Linked DNA regions of Homo sapiens: region 2 is linked to region 1. The links are contacts of gene promoters, found by promoter capture Hi-C in blood cells and fetal thymus (Javierre and others, 2016). All regions are on one chromosome and are shown on one strand. Each heading gives the region's core, a stretch centred on a gene start or on the middle of the fragment in contact. The rest is flanking DNA. Distances are from core to core; before and after follow the strand shown.

Region 1 (3,978 bases), core at 632-3,131:
CTGGACACTGGGAGGGGGTCTGTCAGAACGGAAAGAGGGTGTCCAGTCTGGAAGCTCATGACAACCACGAAGTATGTCCTATTATTAACTCATTTTGCAGAAGAGGAAAACGAAACCTAGAGGTTCCATCACATGCTCAAAGCCGCACGGCTGACAAGTGGTCAAACTGGGGTTCCCACCCAGGTGGGCTTTCTGCCCTCTGTGTGACGGAGGTGGGAGTGGGATTCGGGGATGTGGCCACACACCTGAGCTGGCTGACCACTATCCAGTCATCCTGTTCATCCTCACCCAGGGGCACCTGGGTCTGGGTGCTGTCCGCGAGCTCCAGGATCTGTCCATCCCGAAGCCAATGTACCTCGGGGGGCTCTCCCTGAACCTGGAGCTGACACCGAAGGGTGCCCGTGAGTCCCCGGGCACCTGTGATATTCCCTGGGTTGCCCACGAAGGGACTTTCTTCAGCCTGCGTGCCTGGAGGGGAGATGGGAAGAGTTAGCTTAGGAACCCCCCAGCTCCTTCCGGCCCTCAGTTCCACCCTGTCCTTGCCTGCCCACCGGCGGCCAGGACCCCGCCAGGCCCTTAGGCCGACATAGTTGCAGAGTGACCTCAGAGTGGGGTGGAGGGCGGAGGCTCTGAGAGGAGGACGGGAGCCCTCCCAAGGGACTGGGATCTAGCGTCCATCCCGTCGGGAAGGAGGCTCGGGATCTGGCAGCCTCCCACGCCCTGCACTGCCTGGCAGGGCCAGCCCCTGCCCCCTCCGTCCTCTCTTAGGTCTCTAGAGACTTAACAGGTCGCGCTGGTGCTGGTGGATGGAGGGGAAGAATCAGGGGTTGGGGGAGAGAGATAAGGGTGGTGGTGGGGGGAGATAAGGGTGGTGGCGGAGGGAGAAGCCAGAGAAAGGCAGGGGAGATGAGACAGAGAGGAGCACAGATACAAGGCAAGACAGAAAAAATGAAGAAACAGCCCTCAAGAGAGAAGAAAAGGTGGGGGCGGAGGGGGGATACAGTCACAGAGGGAGGCTGAGAAGAGAGAGAGAGACTCAGAGAGCAGGGAGAGATAAAGGCAGAGACTGTGAAAGAGAGAGAAACAGAGACCCACAGAGATAGCAGAGCTGGAGGCAGAGACAGAGAGACAAAGTGAGAGCCTCCTCCCCAGAGATGGAGTGGACTGGTGGGGTAGGGACAAGTGGCGGGTCAGGGGGGTGGTGTTGGCAGGGAGAAGCGTTTTCCCCCAGGGCTCCAGAGCCCTCCTCATCCCACTGCCTGACTCGGTGCCCCTTCGGAAAGATTTCTTCCTTCCTGGCGACCCTCAGCTCAGCCCCTCTCCCCATGGCCCCCTTCTCAGGTCCAGCCCCCACCCCTGCCCTCAGCTTCTCCTTGTCTGTCTGTCTCTCCGGGTCCTCTCTTCTGTCCCCCCTGCCCTTCAGTTCCTCTCTCAGTCTTTCTCTCCCTCTGCCGCACTTGGTGTCTCTGAGTCTGTGTCTCCCTCCCTTGAAGTCCCTTTTCTGTGGTCCCAAGGAAACTCCCTAAGCCAGCCCAGGCCCCCCACACCTGCCATCATCCCCCACCTCCTACCCCTGCCCCAGCCCCTCCGAGGGGATCCCTGCCCCAAGGAGCCCCCATCACTCACCCCTGGGGGCCATGCACGCCCAGCCGCACAGCGCCAAGCACCAGGCCAGCGGGACCCTGCCCATCCTGGGGCACCGCCACGCCATGGGTGCCAAACTTTCCTCAGAAGTTGTTGGGCTCCCAGCGGGGGAGGGGGCAGGGCCGGGCTGTCCCCGGCCCTCCCCCCAGCTCCAGGCTCCCCGGATTTGGCACTGCCTGCCTGGCACAGCGGCAGGGGAGGCCCTTGCCACCGGCTCTGCCCAGCAGCCGCCTTCTCAGCACCCCTGCCTCCTTCCCTCACTCCCAGACTTGGGCAACCCTTTCTCCGCCCCTGGCTCCCCCTTTGCCTCCGCCCACCAGGGCCAGAGCCCAGGGGCCACCTGGACAATCAGGGGTTAACTCAAGAGAGGAGAGGATCAGCTCTTTCTTAAAGGGGCCAGGGAGGGAGCTGAGGAGGGGGAAGGGGACCCTGGTGGCTGTGCCCCCTGTCCTGAGCCAGTGAGGCCGTGTCTCTCTATCCGGGCTCTGGGCGCTGTCCCTCTGGGCTCTGTGTCTGGTAAACATTCCTCCAGAACTCCACTCCCCTCTCAGCTCAGGCCGTGACGCCCCTCTCCCCGCCTCCACCCCCAGCCCAGCCCCAGCCAGGCCTCCTTGGCCCTTCATTCCCCCTCACTCTCTCGGCTCCTCGGACAAGGACACACACACACACACACACACGCACGCACGCACGCACGCACACACACTCTTAGACGTCACTGACACACACAGGCTAGGACAAGCAGAGACACGCAGAGGGACCCAGACGGGCAGGGGCATGCTACTGGCCCACAGACACACTCAGACAAGCCAGGCCAGGAGCTCGATTCCTGGAGAAACCTCAGAGACAGGAGGACACGGCTGGGTGGGCATCCATGGGGGACACTTACTTGGGGAGACACAGATCTTCAGACACGCCAAAACCTGCATGGACGCCTAAATGGGACACCAAATACAGGCGACATGAAGGGGACCCAAGTTGGAATCCCAGTGCTACCACTAACTGTGGGCTACAGGCAAGTGACTGGCCTCCTGAGCCTCAGTTTGTCCATCTGTAAAATGGGAATAAGAATAGTTGTTGGCCGGGCACAGTAACTCACTCCTGTAATCCCAGCACTTTGGGAGGCCAAGGTGGGAGGATCGCTTGAGCCCAGGAGTTCGAGACCAGACTGGTCAATGCACTGAGACCCCCATCTCTACAAGAAGTTTAAAAATTAAAACTTAACCAGGTATCATGGCGTGTGCCTGTGGTCCCAGCTACTAGGGAGGCTGGAGTGAGAGGAACGCTTGAGTCCAAGAGATCGAGGCTGCAGTGAGCCCTGATCATTCCACTGCTCTCTCCTTCTGGTGGGACTGTGTGTCCTGGTTATTGCAGATCTGCTGCCTGCGTATCGGCTCTGCTGCACTTCCATTCCTCGGCCCTGTGTGTTTGGCACGTGGAGGGCTCTGCATGCCTGGATGTCTGTGAGGAGGAGGCTGGGCGTCTATCCCTCTGCTCTTGGCCACCTGTGTTTGGGTACTGGTATACCTACGGTGCATCATAAAGTCCTATCTGTTTGGCCTCCTGATGTCTCTTCTACCTGCCCCTTCCCAGCACCCCCGTCTGATCCTGCCTTCTCCTGCCTCTACTGTCACTCCTTTCTCCCATTTAGCAACCAGAGGACTGTTTCTGAAAGTCAAATCCTACCCTGTCCCTTCTCTGCTTGCCCATGGCCTCCTGCTGCCCTCAGGGCAAGCTCCCAGCTCCTTGTCACTGGCCACTTAGGGCCCTTCACCGTTGTCTCCCTGGGCTGTGTCTTTTTTTTTTTTTTTTTTTTTGAGACCCAGTCTTGCTTTGTTGCCCAGGCTGGAGTGCAATGGCTCGATCTCGGCTCACTGCAACCTCCATCTCCTGGGTTCAAGTGATCCTCCCACCTCAGCTTCCTGAGTTGCTGGGATTACAGGTGTGCACCACCATGCCAGGTTAATTTTTGTATTTTTGGTAGAGACGGGGTTTCACCATGTTGGCCAGGCTGGTCTGGAACTCCTGAACTCGTGATCTGCCCGCCTCGGCCTCCCAAAGGGCTGGGATTACAGGCGTGGGTCACTGTGCCCGGCCATGGGCTGCTGGCTTCTGTTGCTCCTTCCAACCTGTCTCCCACTCAACAGTCAGAAGGCTTCTTCCCAATCTCAAACCAAACCCTTTCCCACCTCTGCCCCAAACCTTTCAGCAGAACCCTAAACTCCTTATGTTTCTGTGACCCTCCCCTCGCCTCCCCAGGCTTCTCTCGCTTTCTCACCCAAAGAGCCCCCTCAGAGGACTTGGAGCAACCTCCTGCAGCACTTTGTCCCCAACTCT
Region 2 (4,016 bases), core at 970-3,469, 580 kb after region 1:
TTTCTTTTCTTTCTTTATTTTTTTGACGGTCTTGCTCTGTCGCTCAGGCTGGAGTGCAGTGACACAATCTCAGCTCACTGCAACCTCAAACTCCTGGGTTTAAGTACTCCTCCCACCTCAGCCTCCTGAGTAGCTGAGATTACAGGCGCACCCCACCACACTCGGCTAATGTTTTTTAAAATTTTGTGTAGAGATGAGGTCTCACTATGTTGCTTAGGTTGGTCTCGAACTCTTGAGCTCAAGCAATCCTCCCATCTGGGCCTCCCAAAATGCTGGGACTACAGGTGTGAGTCACCACGCCCAGCCAAGGCATGGTATGTGGGCATTACCCAACCACAATGGCATTATCAAGTCTAGCATAATTAACCGAAATTCCTTAATATCTCCTAAAAGCCAGTTTGTGTTCCCCAATTGTCTCAAAAACAGATTTTTACAGTTGTTTGGTGTGAATTGGAATCCAGAGAAAGTACATTCATTGTATTTGGTTTTGAATTTTCTTCTTCTTTTCTACAAATGGTAAAATTTATGGGTGAGTGTGCGTGTGCTCGTGTATAATCCTGATTCTTAAGGGTTTTTTTTTCTTTTTTTGGTTTTGGTTTTGGTTTTTGAGACAGGGTCTACAGTGCAGTGGCACGATCATTTCTCACTGCAACCTCAGCCTCCGGGTTCAAACAATTTTCTTGCCTTAGCTGCTGAAATAGCTGGGATTACAGGCATGTGCCTCCACACCCAGCTAATTTTTGTATTTTTAGTAGAGACGGGGTTTCACCATGTTGGCCAGGCTGGTCTTGAACTCCTGGCCTCAAATGATCCTCCTGCCATAGCCTCCCAAAGTGCTGGGATTGCAGGCAGGATCATTTCATCTGGCTCGATTCTGAGTTTTGAAAAATTCGTAAGTCATGTAATCACCACAGTCTGCATTCATGACAGTTTTATTACTTCAAAAATTCTCTTGGGCTTTGTAGACAAGCATAGTTGGTTTTTGTATCTGCATTTATTGTTCTAATGGGAGGAAAAGCAATCGTGGGAGGTTGTTTAAGGCCTGAAGTTATTCAAGATTGGGCGGGAGTCCACCAGCAAAAGCCCAGGATTAGGCAGGAGGAGACCTGGGCTCCAGGCTTGCTCTTCCACTTGGGCCTTCCTCTCTCTGAGCCTCAGCTTCCCCATCTGTAAGATGGGTATGTGAAAACCCCAAGAGTTAACAAAGGCATCCAGGAAGCTCTCAACTGTGGCAGCTCTTTCTTTCTTCTACTTTTTTTTTTTTTTTTTCGAGATGGAGTTTTGTTCTTGCTGCCCAGGCTAGAGTGCAGTGTTGTGATCTCGGCTTACTGTGATCTCTGCCTCCCGGGTTCAAGCGATTCTCCTGCCTCAGCCTCCCGAGTAGCTGGGATTACAGGCATGTGCCACCACACCCGGCTAATTTTGTATTTTTAGCAGAGATGGGATTTCTCTATGTTGGTCAGACTTGTCTCGAACTCCCGACCTCAGGTGATTAGTCCACCTCGCCCTCCCAAAGTGCTGGGATTACAGGCGTGAACCACCGCGCCCGGCCCTCTTCCTTCTTTATTTACAGCTCTGAGGCCGAGTCATCCCAACCCAGGCACTAGCCCTGCACAGAGCAGCCAGCCCTCCTGGTCGCCTGCCCGCTGCTCCCCCACAGACAACCTGACAGTGTTCCGCGCTTTATTTTAAATTATTTTTTATTTTTGGAGACAGGGTCTTACTCTGCTGCCCAGGCTGGAGTGCAGTGGCATGATCACGGCTCACCTCAGATCTCCTGGGATCCAGCGATCCTCCCACCTCAGCCTCCTAAGTAGCCTTGGGAGTACAGGTGGGTGCCACCATGCCTGGCTAATTTTTAATTTTTTGTAGAGACAGGGGTCTCACTATGTTGCCCAGGCTGATCTCGAACTCCTGGGATTAAGCCAGCCTCCCACTTTGGCCTCCCAAAGTGCTGGGATTAGAGATATGAGCCACCACACCCAGCCTATGTTCTGTGTTTTCTACCTTCAATAGCACTCAAATTCTCCCCTTCCCTTGGCGGGGCGTAGTGGCTCACACCTGTAATCCCAGCACTTTGGGAGGTTGAGGTGTGCGGATCACTTGAGGCCAGGAGTTCAAGACTAGCCTGGCCAACATGGCAAAACCCTGTCTCTCCTAAAAATACAAAAAATTAGGCCAGACGTCGTGGCTCATGCCTGTAATCCCAGCACTTTGGGAGGCCGGGGCAGGTGGATCGCTTGAGGTCAGGAGTATGAGACCAGCCTGGCCAATATGGTGAAACCCCGTCTCTACCAAAAATATTAAAAATTAGCTGGGTGTGAGGGTGCGTGCCTGTAATCCCAGCTACTTGGGAGGCTGAGGCAGGAAAATCCCTTGAACTCGGGAGGCAGAGGTTGCAGTGAGCAGAGATCGTGCCATTGCACTACAGTCTTGGAGACAGACTGAAACTCTGTCTCAAAAAAATATAATAAAATAAAATTATCTCCTTCCCCAATCCACAGTCCCCAGGGCCTGCGCCTCCCAGATTCTCCATGGCCCTGTCCATCTCCGCTGCCTGGGTCCCTGCCCGGCCGGCCTCCTCCCTGGACTCCAGCCTGCCCTTATGTCTCCCATGACCCACTCCCACCCAGCCACCCACAAGCACTTTCTAAATCTGACCACAGACCCCCATGTCTCAAAGGATAACTCGAGGCCTGCCAAGCGCCTCCCTTCCCCATAGGACAAAATTATTGCCAGTAATAATCAGGAAATGAAATGAACAATATTAATAGTCAGAAAAGAAATGTAAACAGTGGAGATTTTCTTTTCTTGAACCTCATATACGTAAAGTCTGCCAGTAAAAATTAAATTTAAAAGTAAACATTACAGTACTAAAAAAAAAAAGAAAGAAAAATAGCACTACTATTTATTCAAAGTTTATTGAAAAATTCGAAGTTGGAACTTGGGTTTTTGGGTTACAGTCTGATATAAAATTGTTATGTAAATAGTTGTGAGTTTTTTTCTTCTTGAGGAGAGAGAGACTGGGAGGGAGGGAGGAAACAGGAAGAGAGACAGACAGAGAGACAGACACAGAGTGAGACACAGTTGACCCCTTCACATGGGGCCCTGGGCACTTAGAATTCACCCTGCAAAGCCCCCCCGAAGTCAGGACTTGGTGTGGGGTGTTGCAGAAATGTTTCCTCCCCCTGCCCGGGCTCCGCTGGGAAGCCACGTCCCCCACCCCTGCCCTTCCTCCCACCCACAGCCTGCCTTCTCTCTGGGGACCTCTGTGGAGCTGCCTGGAACATGCGTGGGGTGACATGCATAGCAAGCTGGGGGAAGCAACCAAGGTGGTGGCCAGGCCCCTTGAAGACATAAAAGCACATTGCATTGGGAGGGAGGGACCCCGGGGGGCTGAGAATGTCCTGTTGCTTAAACTGGATGGAGGGGACACTGGGTGGTGGGTGCAGCTCCTCGTTTTCAGCAGTGGTTTCTTGAAGTAGACCCATATTCAGGAAAGTACAAACCGTAAGTGTAACCGCTGGAGGAATTATCACCGATTGAACACACCTGTGTCACCAGCCACCAGCCCAAGAAGCAATATCTCCAGCCCCCCAGAAGCCCCCTCGGCGCTCCCTTATCACCTGCCCTCCCTCCAAGGTCATTATCACCCTCACTTCTGACAGCATAGATTGGTTGTGCCTGTTTTGAATTCATGTAAATGCAATCTGAAAATATGTTCTTTTTAGCATCTGGCTTTTTTCAGTCAGCACCGTGAAAAAAATTCATCCTGGTTGTCGTGTGCAGTTACAGGTTATTCTCATTGCAGCACACACACATTGCAGGCCACTGTGGGATCAGTTTATCCATTCTTCTGCTGGTGGTGAGGGACTGAGCCAAGGGGGCCAGGCGCGGTGGCTCACACCTGTAATCCCAGCACTTTGGGAGACTGAGGTAGATGGATCACTTGAGATCAGCAGTTCGAGACCAGCCTGGCCACATGGTGAAACCCCGTCTCTACTAATAATACAAAA

What was found. Contacts are between HindIII fragments. The CHiCAGO score rates a contact against its expected background, and 5 or more counts as called.
Region 2: a contact is called between a fragment that was not itself captured here and the fragment with the promoter of AXL in region 1, in 3 of 17 cell types (naive CD8 T cells, M2 macrophages and erythroblasts). The highest score is 7.1, in naive CD8 T cells.

The regions. Positions count from the first base shown.
Region 1 is chr19:41,217,126-41,221,103 of GRCh38, reverse strand. It overlaps AXL (AXL receptor tyrosine kinase), which reads right to left and starts at 1,881. Exons shown (of 20, transcript NM_021913.5): 1 at 1,627-1,881; 2 at 246-468. The coding sequence starts at 1,711. RefSeq lists a silencer at 2,168-2,307 and an enhancer at 1,916-2,740. The HindIII fragment of the contact is 40,135 bases long and covers 1-3,978 here.
Region 2 is chr19:40,640,100-40,644,115 of GRCh38, reverse strand. No RefSeq gene overlaps it. Among named protein-coding and RNA genes, the nearest start is that of LTBP4, 41 kb to the right of the region's middle. The HindIII fragment of the contact is 6,260 bases long and covers 1-4,016 here.